Linked DNA regions of Homo sapiens: region 1 is linked to region 2. Evidence: promoter capture Hi-C in 16 types of primary human blood cells and fetal thymus (Javierre and others, 2016). All regions are on one chromosome and are shown on one strand. The core of a region is centred on a gene start or on the middle of the fragment in contact, and the rest is flanking DNA. Distances in the headings are between cores, read along the strand shown.

The links. The method cuts DNA at HindIII sites, captures the fragments that hold promoters and counts their contacts. A CHiCAGO score of 5 or more calls a contact.
Region 1: a fragment that was not itself captured here is called in contact with the fragment with the promoter of TMEM263-DT in region 2 in 1 of 17 cell types (non-activated CD4 T cells); the score reaches 5.7 in non-activated CD4 T cells.

The regions. Positions count from the first base shown.
Region 1 is chr12:2,891,072-2,897,885 of GRCh38, forward strand. The region is part of intron 1 of TULP3 (TUB like protein 3); the gene reads left to right. Among named protein-coding and RNA genes, the nearest start is that of TULP3, 3.6 kb to the left of the region's middle. The HindIII fragment of the contact is 7,043 bases long and covers 1-6,297 here.
Region 2 is chr12:106,951,973-106,958,755 of GRCh38, forward strand. It overlaps TMEM263-DT (TMEM263 divergent transcript), which reads right to left and starts at 3,523. Exons shown (of 1, transcript NR_185933.1): 1 at 1,541-3,523. TMEM263 (transmembrane protein 263) reads left to right here and starts at 3,935. Exons shown (of 4, transcript NM_152261.4): 1 at 3,935-4,093; 2 at 5,110-5,177. RefSeq lists a silencer at 3,563-4,322 and enhancers at 3,599-3,893, 4,823-4,882. The HindIII fragment of the contact is 6,686 bases long and covers 1-6,239 here.

The DNA.
Region 1 (6,814 bases), core at 1,526-4,025, about 100 Mb before region 2:
CGGGGAGAGGGCGGGACTCGGGACTTGGCGACTCAGGGAGGGACTGGTTTCGGCGGCGGGAGGCGACCCCCTCGCCCTACTCCCGTGTGGGGACCCCTTTCTCAAGTGGAGCGGCGGCACTACATCCCGCGCCGTGGGCAGAGACCTTTGGTTCAGGTCCCTGCTTAGGAACTTCTGGAGTTTTCGTGACGGGCTCCCTCGGCCCCTCTGGGCCTCGGGTTTCCCTCGGGGGAGAGGCGCTGGCCCCGCTCAGCTCCCACTGCCCGGCGGTGTCACAGCCGAGAGGGGACCCAGCCCCTCCCGGGAGGCGGTGCGGGTGATGTTTAGTAGCTTGTTCTGACGCCGCTGCTTCGGACGGGTAAAGCTGAATTCTGGAGCAGAGTCCGAGGAGCGGAAACGCGAAACTTCTTTTTCCTCTCTGCTTTCCAGTGTTTGTCCCTGATTCGGGATGGTCTGACTGATTTGCCAGTGGGCCACACCCCTTGTTTGTGCGCCTCTTTCTCTGCCAGAGGGAGAGCCTCGGAAAAAAAAGGATCCAAAATCTCAGCGTGTCACTTTCTTGTTCGCTAGGTTAATGAGAAGTTAATGGGAAGCCGTTTGAAATCATTGGTTAGAAACTTTGGCGTCATCTGAGGATTTAAGCCCTACACGCCAACTGTATACCCCGCTTTTTATTCCATTACCAAGACAAAGATTTGGGGCCAGGCGCCTTGGAACACGTCTATTATCCCCAGCACTTTGGGAGGCCAAGGCAGGAGGATCGCTTGGTCTCAGGAGTTCGAGACCAGCCTGGACAAGATAGCGAGACCCCCATCTCTAGAAAAAAATAAAATAAAATAAAATCAATCAGTCAATCAATTAAAATTTGGCCGGACACGGTGGTGCGCGCCTGTAGTTCCAGCGACTCGAGAGACTGAGGAGGGAGGATTCCTTGAGCCCAGGAGTTCCAAACTCCTGTGTTGGGCCACTGAGCTCGCTAGCCTGGGCAACGCAGTGACATCCTGTCACCTTAAAAAAAAAATGATTTGACGTGTAAGTATTTAGTTTGATATTTCCACTAGTAGATATTTAAACAATTTTAAACCATTTTTAAAAATTGTCACAAAGTTGTTGGGGGTAAAGAACATGTATTTTCCTTTTTCGTCAAGTTCTATTGAGGTGATAGCTGCACTCTGAAATTTGTTCACTGTGCTTTTTTTTTTCCCAAGTCGAGGAAGAAAACTACATTTACAGGTGTAAGTGGTAGAGGAGATAAAGTTAGTATTCAGCATCTCTGGTTGAATTCCGAAAATATTTGTTCAGTTGTGGGCGCTCAGTTTTAATTCCATGAATTTAAAGTAGTAAATTTCATGAGTACCAGATGTTTGATATGACTCAGATTTTTTGGGGAAAAAAAAACGGGATGCGGGATTGACTTTGAAATTGGGACCAAGAGGCTTTTCCTTCCTTTTTTTTTTCTGAGACGGAGTCTCTCTCTGTCGCCAGGCGGTAGTGCAGTGGTGCGATCTCGGCTAACTGCAGCCTCCGCTTCCCGGGTTCAAGTGATTCTCCTGCCTCAGCCTCCTGAGTAGCTGGGACTATAGGCACGCGCCACCACGCCCAGCTAATTTTTGTATTTTTAGTAGAGACGGGGCTTCACCATGTTGGCCAAGATGGTCTCGATTTCTTGACCTGGTGATCTGCCCACCTCGGCCTCCCAAAGTGCTGGGATTACAGGCGTGAGCCACTGCGCCTGGCCCCCTCCTTGTTCTTCCGAAAGAAACTAGCTCTTTAAATTTTATTTTCTTTTCTTTTAATTTTAATTTTTTTTTTTTTTTGAGACAGGGTCTCACTCTGTCGCCCAGGCTAGGATGTGGTGGGCGATCTCAACTAATTTCAACCTCTTCCCCAGGTTAAGCGATCCTCCCACCTCAGCATCCCTAGTAGCTGGGACCACAGGTGCGTGGCACCACCTGGCTAATTTCTTGTATTTTTTGTAGAGGTGGGGTTTCGTCATGTTGCTCAGGCTGGTGTCGAAGTGAGCTCAAGTGATCTGCCTGCCTCAGCCTCCAAAACTTCTGGGATTACAGGCCTGAGCCACTGCACTTGGCCCTAAATTGTAAAATTGACATCAAAGGGGAATGTGTGAGTCACCAAATGTTTCTCCTGCCCTCTGTAATGTTAGTGCAACTTCTATCAGTGTTTAACTCATTTGTTACTAAGAGGGAGTCTCTTGCTTTTTTCTCTTTTTGGGCTTCAGGTTGTGTGTTTAATGTGTTTTTTTTTTTTTTTTTCCAAACGGAGTTTCGCTCTCGTCGCCCAGGCTGGAGTGCAGTGGCGCCATCTTGGCTTACTTGCCTCCTGGGTTCCAGTGATTCTCCAGCCTCAGCCTCCTGAGTAGCTGGGATTACAGGCATGCGCCACCGTGCCCGGCTAATTTTTATATTTTTAGTAGAGAGGGGGTTTCTCCATGTTGGTCAGGCTGGTCTTGAACTCCCGACCTCAGGGGATTCGCCCGCCTCGGCCTCCCAAAGTGCTGGGATTACAGGCGTGAGCCCCCCAACCCTGCCTGGCTGTTTAATGTTTTTGATGAAATACATTGATAGAATTTTCTGTATTACTGCCTTTCAATGTAAGGATAACAACCAACTTTTAGGTTTTCTGTGTTTTTTTTTTTTCTTGGAATTATGTAACTTTTATCATGAAGCAGATTTATTTTCAACAAAATAGAGAAATTATTAACTACAAATATTTTTTTTAATTTTTATTTTTTTGTAGAGACAAGGTCTCACTATGTTGCCCAGGATGGTCTTGAAGTCCTGGTCTCAAGTGATCCTCCTGCCTCAGCCTCCCAAAGTGCTGGGATTACAGGTGTGAGCGACCAGGCTTGGCCTATTTTCTTATATCAGAAATGTTTAGTGAAAATTGGAGGTGAAATTTGAAACAACACTCAGGACCTTTGTTGAGGCTAGGCATTTTATAATATAGATTCCCTGGAGATGACGGGGGTTGGCTGGTGCTGGAACTTGAGCCCTATCTGGCCTTTTGTAAGTGATAGAGAATTGAGAATTGAAGGCGTGCTTCCCACTGTGGTGTGACCTTGTGAGCTGGAGTCATCTAAGAAATCCCAGTCGGTGGTTTGTCCATATACCATGATTTCTCTTTAGAAATATAAACAGTAGGCTGGGCATGGTGGCTCACACTTGTAATCCCAGCACCATGGGAGGCCGAGATGGCGGGGGGGCGGGGCGGGGGGGGGGAAATCACCTGAGGTCACGAGTTCAAGACCAGCCTGACCAACATGGAGAAACCCTATCTCTACTAAAAATGCAAAACTTAGCCAGGCATGGTGGCAGGTGCCTATAATCTTAGCTACTCAGGAGCTGAGGCAGGAGAATCGCTTGAACCAGGGAGGTGGAGGTTGCAGTGAGCCAAGACTGTGCCACTGCACTCTAGCCTGGGTGACAGAGCAAGACTCCGTCTCAAAAACACACACACACACACACACACACACACGCACGCACACAAAAAAGAGATCTGTCAAGATAAAAAGCTCAATAATAGGCTAGGTGCAGTGGCTCATGCCTGTAATCCCAGCACTTTGGGAGGCGGAGGTGGGCAGATCACGAGGTCAGGAGTTCAAGACCAGCCCAACCAACATGGCGAAACCCTGTCTCTACTAAAAATACAAAAATTAGCCAGTTATGGTGGTGTGTGCGTATAGTCCCAGCTACTCCGGGAACTGAGGCAGAAGAATTGTTTGAACCTGGGAGGCGGAGGTTGCGGTGAGCCGAGATCACACCACTGCACTCCAGCCTGGGCGACAAGAGCAAAACTCCATTTGAAAAATAAAATAAAATGAAATAAAAATAAGAAATAGTGAAAATAAATAACATTCCCGAAGAGAGAAAATATAACCCCTGAGAAGGGAGAATTGGGCAAAAGTTAAAACGAACTTAAGTTCTGAGTAATGTCTGTTTGAATCTACAAGTAATAAATGCATTCTTTTAACTTCTGGATTAAATCATACATCTTAAATAGCCTTTTTGTTTAGTTCACTCAAAAGAATGCTTTTTGCTTTTGCTGTGTGGTACTTGCAAAATCAGGAGGGGTTTACTCTAAAATAGTTTTCCCTGCAGCATTCTTTGGGGCTATGGGAATGCTCAAATCAGCGGCCAGCCTTTGCTTCTCATTGCCTCCCTCTCCCCAGGCAGTTCTCCCTGCTCTGATTGTGTCTCTACTAAATGGGCCTCCTAGGAAATGGATGTTCATTCCCTGGCTTCAATTAAGTTAGCTCCAGATTGTGGCCGTCTTTCAAGTAGAGGACAGCTGAGCTTAGAATACTAACATTTCTCCCTAGATGAGGAAGGATAGATGTCAAAGGAATTCTTTTCTGACACTTCTCATATGACCTTTATGTGTCTTTTCTCAGAAGCAATATTTTGTTCAAGCCAGATGTGTTCTTGGTGTGTCAGTATGTGTAAAAACATGGCCTTCGAATATTGACATTTAGGATTTGGACAAGGTGAACCTATTTGTCAATTGAGTTAGGAAACATACTTTGTTAATAGCTCTTTCCACAATTATCTGAAATTGTTATCAGTTTGAACATGATGAAATCTGATGCCTCTTTCACTCTATACAGTTATTTGCCACTTAATGATGGGGATGCATTCTGAGAAATGTGTCATTAGTGGATTTTGTTGTGTGAACGTCATAGTGTACACAAACCTTGATGGGATATCCTACTACCTACCTAGGCCCTGTGGTACAGTCTGTTGCTCCTAGGCTACAAAGCTATACAGCCTGTTACTGTACTGAATATTGTAGGCAATTGGAACACACTGGTAAGTATTAGCATATCTAAACATAGCAAAGGTACAGTGAGAATACTTTTTTTTTTTTTTGAGACGGAGTCGCATCTTTGTTACTCAGGCTGGAGTGCAATGGCATGATCTCGGCTCACTGCAATCTCTGCCTCCCAGGTTCAAGTGATTCTCCTGCCTCAGCCTCCCAAGTAGTTGGGATTACAGGCGTGCACCACCATGCCCAGCTAATTTTGTATTTTTAGTAGAAACGGGGTTTTACCATGTTGGTCAAACTGGTCTTGAACTCCTGACCTCAAGTGATCCACCCGCCTCTGCCTCCCAAAGTGCTGGGATTACAGGCGTGAGCCACTGTGCCTGGCTGACAATGTGGTGTTATCATCTTAGGGGACCCCTGTTGTATATGCAGTATGGTTGACCTAAATGTCGTTATTCAGGGCACTCCTCCCCAGGGCTGCTTAAAAATCCATTCACTGGCTTGGAAGTTCTACCTAAAAATAGCAAGTCAGCTGGCATTTTTAATGAACATATTGAAATACCAGAGAATGAAATTCCTGTCTCTGCTGACCATTTTAATACACGTGTTCAGTCGTGTGGTTTAACACATTCAGGTAGATTGGGAGTGAGACTTGTGATTGAATTTGGGCTCTTTCGCTGATCAGCTGTTTGACCTTTAGAATATGAACTATAGTTGTAAGTTTAAAATTGCTTTCCTGTGATGTGTAGAAAATAAGGCTGTAACAAAGCAAGAAATATTTTTCAAATATGCTCCTGGAAAAATAAAATTATTGCTATTTAGCTTTGCAGGAAGAAACTTCAATAAATCTACAAGGTAGGTGCTATAATCTCATTTTACAGAGAGATATGAAACTCATATGAAAGGAGTTCACCTCCTTTCTCCCGAAATTCATTTAGAGCATCTATGAGTTTCATATCTGTCTGTAAAATGAGATTATAGTGCCTACTTTGTCAAGGTTATCGTGAAAATTATCACACATCATATGTGAAAAATAATATATATTTAATATAATTCCTGGCAGGCAGTATTAAATATTCACTAAGTAGAACTGTACTTAAGTGCAACTAGCAGAGTGACAACACATTTTAACAATGTTTCAATAACAATACAATTTTGGACTTTTAAATTTTTTTTTTGGAGTCTCGCTCTGTCGCCTAGGCTGGAGTGCAGTGGCAGGATCTCGGCTCATGGCAACCTCCACCTCCTGGGTTCAAGCAGTTCTCCCTGCCTCAGCCTCCTGAGTAGGTAGGATTACAGGTGCCTGCCACCACCCCTGGCTAATTTTTGTATTTTTAGTAGGGACAGGATTTCACCATGTTGGCCAGGCTGGTCTCGAACCCCTTACCTCAGGTGATGCACCTGCCTCGGCCTCCTAAAGTACTGGGATTACAGGCATGAGCCACTACGCCCAGCCTAAAGATTTTTTTAATACAGGGGAAATTATTAGAAATTTCTGGGTTTCCAACATTCGAAAGCTTTTGAAAGGTGATAAAGTATTATGATGAAATCATTAGTCTTCTCACTGAAGTGAAGATTAAGGTAACACATTCATTTGTAGTATTAAGAAGTATTGTAAAACAAAAATCTTCCCAGGCACAGTGGTTCAGGCCTATAATCCTAGCACTTAGGGAGGCTGAGGCAGGAGGAAGGAGATCACTTGAGGCCAGTAGCTCAAGACCAGCCTGGGCAACATAGTGAGACCCCCTGTCTGTCTGTTGGTCTGTCATGTTCGTTTGTTCTCTCTCTCAAGACATAGGGTCTTGCTGTATTGCCCAGGCTAGTCTTGAACTCGGGCCTCAAGTGATTCTCCCACCTCGGCCTCCCAAAATGCTGGAAAGGCATGAGCCACTCTGCCTGGCCCGAGACCCTGTCTCTTAAAAAAAAAAAAAAAAAAAATTCTAGGCCCAGTGCGGTGGCTCATGCCTGTAATCCCAGCACTTTGGGAGGGCAAGGCAGGCAGATCACCTGAGGTTAGGAGTTAGAGACCAGC
Region 2 (6,783 bases), core at 2,273-4,772:
TCTATGCTCTAAACAGGATATTGTCAGGAAGTGGGGGTAATTCTATGATTGGGTATCTTAATAAATCTTATCTAGAAAGAGGGAAGACTGGAATGAGGCTTAAGCTGTCATTGGCAAAGAGGCAACAGCTACGTAGACTAGTTTGGTATTTTCATTTTGTGTATTTCATTTGGTGGGTTGGACAGCATTTGTGTTTTTGTCTACATTCACACACGATTATGAAGTAGTCTTATTTTTGTCCTGATCCACCATGATCATGGAGTGGCCTCGTCTGATGTTGATGTTCTCTAAAATTATTTTTGTTCAACAAGAATACCAAAGCCTAGTGTGCCAGCATCTACTGCATGTCAGAAACTGCTTTTCTCTTTCTCGGAATATAGTGATTAAGAACTTGGGCTCTAGAGTCAGACAAAATTGGGTTTGATTCTAAAGCCTGCTCTTCACTAGCCTGTGGGACCCAGGGTAAATTATCCAACTTCTCTATGCCTCGGTTTCCTCATATGAATATAGGATTTCCTATATTAGAATATAATGTGCTTGCTTCATTGGATTGAGAGAAATCAGATGATCGAGGTTAGGAGCTGTGTCAAATAAATCTGCCGTATCATAGGAAAAATTAAGGATATTGGTGCAGGCAAAGGAAAACCAATAGCACAGGTGATTGTGCCAGGAATGGCAAAGAGCAGTGAAGAAAGTGAGGATAGAAAGCATAATGATTTACACTGGGGGGTAACTAACTTTTATAAAGCTGTTAATTTAATGCAAGGATAATGCATTACACTCATGAAAACATGGTGAAACAGGAAAAACGTGCGCACCTTGCAACAAGTAGGCTTCTTACTTAAATGAGTCCATACTGAAACCCTGGGAAGAGTGTTTGATAATGATGAAAACTATGATTGTGCACATAACAGGAGACAGACTCACATGTTGGGTAGAAGGTTGGGCTGGAGCTTTTTAAACTTCAGCGTACTATCAGCCTAGAAATAATTTCTTGCTTTAACATTACTGGTTTCTGCCTTCTTTCTGGTCCTCTTTGAACCACCCCACCATGTTAAGCAATGCCACATCTAATTTCTAAGTTTTTCAATAAGGCAAAAAGACTGTGTGTGTACCCAACTAGAAGAAAACTCAGTCACTTAAGAGGCTGGGTAATTGATATGTGTATTAAGAATTTTGTTAAAAGAATTTTATTGCCTGAAGGCACTAAGAATTCATCATTATTGTTATTTTAAGAGAGAGGGTCTCACTTTGTCACCCAGGCTGGAGAGCAGAGGCACAATCATAGCTCACTGCAGCCTTGAAATCCTGGCTCAAGTGACCTTCCTGCCTCAACTTCCCAAGTAGCTAGGACTACAGGTGCGTGCCACCACACCTGGCTATTTATTTATTTATTTTTTGTAGAAACAGGGTCTCACTATATTGACCCGGCTAGTCTCAAACTCCTGGCTTTAAGCAATCCTCCCACCTTGGCCTCCCAAAATGCTGTGATTACGTGGCCAGGGCTCATTAAGACATGACAAAATCTTTCAAAATAACATCCAGAAATAAATGTTTCATTTTATTTTTCTTGAAACAGGGTCTCACTCTGTTGTCCAGGCTGGAATGCAGTGGTGTGACCACGGCTCAGTGCAGCTTTGACCTCCCAGGCTCTAGCAATCCTCCTGCTTCAGTATCCCAAATAGCTGGGACTACAGGAGGGTGCCACCATGCTCAATTATTATTATTATTTTTTTAAGAGATGGGATCTCCCCATGTTGCCCTTGCTGGTCTTAAACTCCTAGGCTCAAGTGATCTTCCCGACTCAGCCTCCCGAGGTGCTGGGATTAAAGGCGTGAGTCATCTGTATTTTATTTTAACAATCTAAGAAAGGGAGGTCACAGAATGGGAATCAAGAACTTAGAGGAGTTCAGACTATAAAACGAAGAAATACTACAAGTCATGTATTTGTTTGTTTTATAGGCTGAACTCCTACACCAGAAGTTTCTGATGAACTCATGACCTCCCAAAGGAGCTCTTTTAAATCTTAGTTAGTTTATGAAACAGATTCAACTGCTGCTTTGAGTTATGGCTTTTAATAACCGTAAAAATGCAAAATCTCCCAGGAGTGGCTACAATCTTGTCAGTCATTTGTACTTTAATAATAATTAGATTCTCTTGTAAAACGACGTGCAAAGGGAAGAAGAAACAAGACGTAATTGTGCACTTCATAATTTTACCTAGAGTTCAACCTTGAAAGGTCACATATTAAGGATAGAAGTTTGTGTAATAACGAGAAAACAGAGGATATCCGTTTCTTCACATACTGGATAAACAACAATCCACGGATCCTGCTAATCATCCAACCCATATGTTGAATTGACAAGAGTATTTAATTTCCTCTTTCTGCTTTGAGAAACTAAATATCTTGACAGTCTGAGCACAGTGGCTTAAGTGGCCTTAATTCTCTGATTTCATAAGTTAATGATTAGGTTGAAGCTATAAACTATAGTCCATTCCATTTAAGACCTGGATCAAAGTTAGCTTCATCCAGCATGTTTTAGCACGTCCTTTCTGAGCTATGTTGTCAGTAGTTACCATTCAGTTCCACCATCCTGAATATTCTGCAGTTGATAAACCATTTTGTGAATTTTTTTTTTTTGCTTTCTGTGTATGTTTTTGACTCGCGTGTTTTTGCTTCGCTAATCAGATTGCGAAAGGAAACATCTCACGTTTGCATAGGACTTCACAGTTCATAAAGACCTTTCCCACCCACCACAAAAAAAGTATGACAAGTTTCCCGTCATCTTCATTTTATAGGTGTGGAAAGGGAGTCAAAGAAAAGTTAATCGATACCATTTATCTAGTTAAGCAGGCTTTGAGCAGTTCATCTCCTCCCGTCCTCAAAACGACCTTCTGAGGTGTCTCCTGCAACCCTGCTCTGAAGCTCAGAGCGAGACGGCCTCACATCCCAGGGGGCTCAGCTCTGGCGGGGCCGCCACGCGCCTCCCCGTGCCTTTGGACGGGTGAGGAGAGCTGCTGCCCCGGCGGGGACCACGTGGAGGGGCCTGGTCAGCAAGTGGCAAGGACGCGGCGCAAAGCCAGGCTTTCTAATGTACAATCCGCGGCTCTTTCGATACTGAACACCCACCTCTTCAACAAATTCGAGCGCCTGGCAGGCCCTGCACCAAGCCTAGGGTGATGGCGACCCAGGCGGGTTTTTACTCTCAAGGAGCTCAATTCTAGGGCAGGGAGAAGTAAAATTAAAAAAAAAAAAATCATAACAAACTGAAAAACACATAAATAAGCCACGTCTCTCCTCACCCCTAGCACTTAATCACAAAGGCCTGTAGAGAGTCCCGACGAGAACTTCTGAGCAGGCCCCGCTGTCAGTCCCTGAGGACAGCATGCAAGGGAGGTTGACGTCCCTGGACGAAGAAAGTGCTGGAGAAACTGGCGACCGTCCCACCTTCCCTAAGGCGAAGGCTCTGAATTCCGAAGACCGTTACTCGGCGCGGAACGCGGGCACCGCCGACGTCAAAACACCGGGCCTGGGGGCCGCGGCCTACGCGTCTCCCGGGCTTCGCGCCCCTCGCCCGATTTGATTGGATGGTGGCGGGAAGAAGGCGGGGAGACCCCCGGAGGAGGGGCGCGCAGGCCGGCCGGGGGTTCCCACGGAGGCGTCCAGGGGGCGAAGGGGCGGGAGCGGGCCTCGGAGCGTCGCGCGTGCGCAATTGGGACACAGCCGGCTGGGGACTGCTGGGAGGGCCGGACCCTGCGAGAACGGGTGGGCGTGTGCCCGGTGGGCGCGGGAGGGGCCCGGGCTGCACGAGCGCGCGTGCGCGTCGGAACTGGAGCCGCGGGAGGAGGCGGGAGCTGAGGAGGCGGCGGAGGGGGCGGGTCGCGTCGGGCGCCACGTCCGCAGCCAGAGGCCTCCGCCTCCACCACCGCCGCCACAGTCTTCCAGCTCCACATCCTGAGAGGACGCCTCTGGAGCCGCGACTGCCCGGGGTTGTGCCGGCCGCCGCTGCCGCCCAGGCCGCCTCAGCTCTCCTCTGCGCCGGCCCGCTCACTCCGCCCGGCCCCAGCCCTAGCGCTGGCCGCGACCCCGGCGGTGAGTGAGTCGGGATGCGAGGGCAGGGGCGCAGTCCCGGCTTCCTGCCCTCCTCCGTCGCCCTCTGCCGTCGGCGCCCCTGCCCCTCACCTCCCAGTGCCCGGCCTGGCTGCCCAGCGGGGCCTTGGCGAGGCCCCAGCGGGAAAGGGGGAGGGGCGGGACGAAGTTGGGGGCGGATGGAGGTTCGCTTCTGGGGCTACTCCTCCTTATACGTCGCTGACTGCCCCGCCGCGATTGGAGCTTGCGCACCCCTGGAAAGCCTCCGCCTGACTTCTTAGCATCTGGGGGTTCGGGGTTGGGGGCGGAGGAGGAAGGTGAGGGGCATCAGCAGCCTGGGAGAGGGATGCAGCGGAGGGGCTTGGGTACCGGGCTTCCTCGCCCTGCCAACTCCTGACCTGTTGCTAAACCTCCCTTTTGGGTTCAGGCACACAAGACTTTTTCCCAGTGGACACCCCCATAGCTCTTCCTGGGTAGGAAGGCTGTATCTCCACGCCTAACCTAAAGTAAAAGTGGGAATGGAGAGGGTGCTGGCCGCGCCCAGGGGTGACAGGGAGGGCTGGAGCACCCATCCGTGCCGTCACTGCCTCCCAGTCTAAATAAAAACTGCCTGCTCTGCACACGCAGCTTCAAGACCGACCCCCCAGCTCCCACTTCCAATCAGATCGCCTGTCCTAAACCCTTCTTACATAGAAATTCTGGAGCCCTTCGGGAGTGGGGGGAGTGCTGGGTGTACAACGTGGAGCGGAGGGAGGAGGTGCCAAGCTCAGTGCTAGCCACGGCGCCTCCAGGGTCATTTTCTGCCTCCTGCCACGTCACTCACTGCTAAAGAAAAAAAAAAGATTTGCTAGTGCCTAAAGGGATCAGTAGGGAGAGAAGGGGCCACCCGGAAGGGTTTAGAAACACCTAGAGAAAAGGGAAGGGTTCTTAATTTGATTTTTGCGTCCTTGTGAACACTGTGCTAATTCCAAATGAAAATATTTGCTATATGTGATTATTTGCTGTATGCTATTGTTTAGCCTTTGAAACTTCTGCTGGTGTGAGTGCCCTCAGGGGTTCCCCAGGAATATCGATACAACACCAACAGGTAAACGCGCGCGCCCGTGTGTGTGTGTGTGTGTGTGTGTGTGTGTGTGTGTGTGTGTGTGTATGTGTGTGCGCGCTCGCGCCCATGCTTAACTTTTTAAAAAGAAAGGGAGAAGTAGCCTTTGATAAACCCATATGCATCCTGTTTTGCTTTTTCCACTTTCATTTCTTTAGTCTTTGTTAGAACAGATGTACCAGAAACCAAGTTCAGTAAAAATTTGTCCATTTATAGAAAGCATCGTTAGAAATTATAACGGTTGCTACATTGGACAAATATACAGATTTCTTTGTGTGTGCATGGGTTTGATTTTTTTTTTTTTAACTACAGGAAAATCTTTACCTTTGTTTCAGTTATTCGGTATTTGCTCTTTTTCTATTTCCGGAAGATATCTCACTGGATTATATATAAACATCTTGAGAATAAGACCTTTGTATGCTTGTTCACAAGGATGCCTCAGTGCCTAATAGAATGTTTGACACATAGTAGGAATGCAAATATCTGTTGAAATAATGTGAAGATGGTTTACTGGTTCTCTGGTTTAATAGAGTATTGTAATTCTGCTTAATGTTTCATTTAAGGATAACCCTTAAAAATTGCCATTTTGACACTGTCAGTTATTACTCGTCTAAGTGGGCACTTACAAGTTTTACTGGCAGATGACCTTTTCTTCCTTGCTAGATTGAGAGCATTTCTTGTAGCCTATTTGCTGTTGATTTAATGGGCAGGGGCCATCTTTAAAAGCAGACTCTTCTTGATAGTTGGTTTAACTAGAAAAACATAAAAACAGTAAGCTGGAGTTTTAATGTACTCTGCTTGTTGGTGTATATGTTGTAAAGCTCTGTATACATATATTTTTGAATCTCTTTGCAGTTATTTGGCAAAAAAGCTAAAACATGGGAGTGAGGATGTGGTAAAGTTCTTTTAGGTAGAATATGTAGAAGAATTTAGCTAATTCATTTATAGTCGTCTTTTTCTATTATAGGGAAATTGGCACCTACTGTTGAATAACAGGTGGTTTTAAGTGGCTTTGACAATAAACTTGTGCACTGTATTTTGTAGTTAAGCTTTATATAACGTGTTAGTGTTATTTAACTTCCTTTGGTGTATAGAGGGGTGGTACCCAGAGGAAAATTTATGTACTGTTTTTGGAATTTTTTATTATGAATAAAAATTTTATATATGAAATATTACTGAAACCCACAAACAAGATTGATTCATCAAAGAAAACACGTTTCCCAAGAGGTGTTTGTTTACTTATTTCTATTATTGGAATAAATTACCCTTTAGGGAATTGTGTTGTTAATCCTTGCTCAGTGTATTTGCCAGCTGCTAAATCTATGTGATACTATTGTACTGGGCAAGAATTATTTCTCCCCATCTCTACAATGCTTAATGTAACTGCTGATGAATTTGTAGTCGTGATATACAGTCTACAACAAAGAAGCCTTTCATATGTCACAATTTCTTAAAAACCCACTTATAACCAGTTTAGTTGGTATTGTAATAGTTTATTCACACTTCAGGACCAAAAGGTAGAACTGATTTATGTCTGTAGAATAAGTTAAATCATTTGTACTTATCTAAAGCTATTGTCTGTCATTACTAC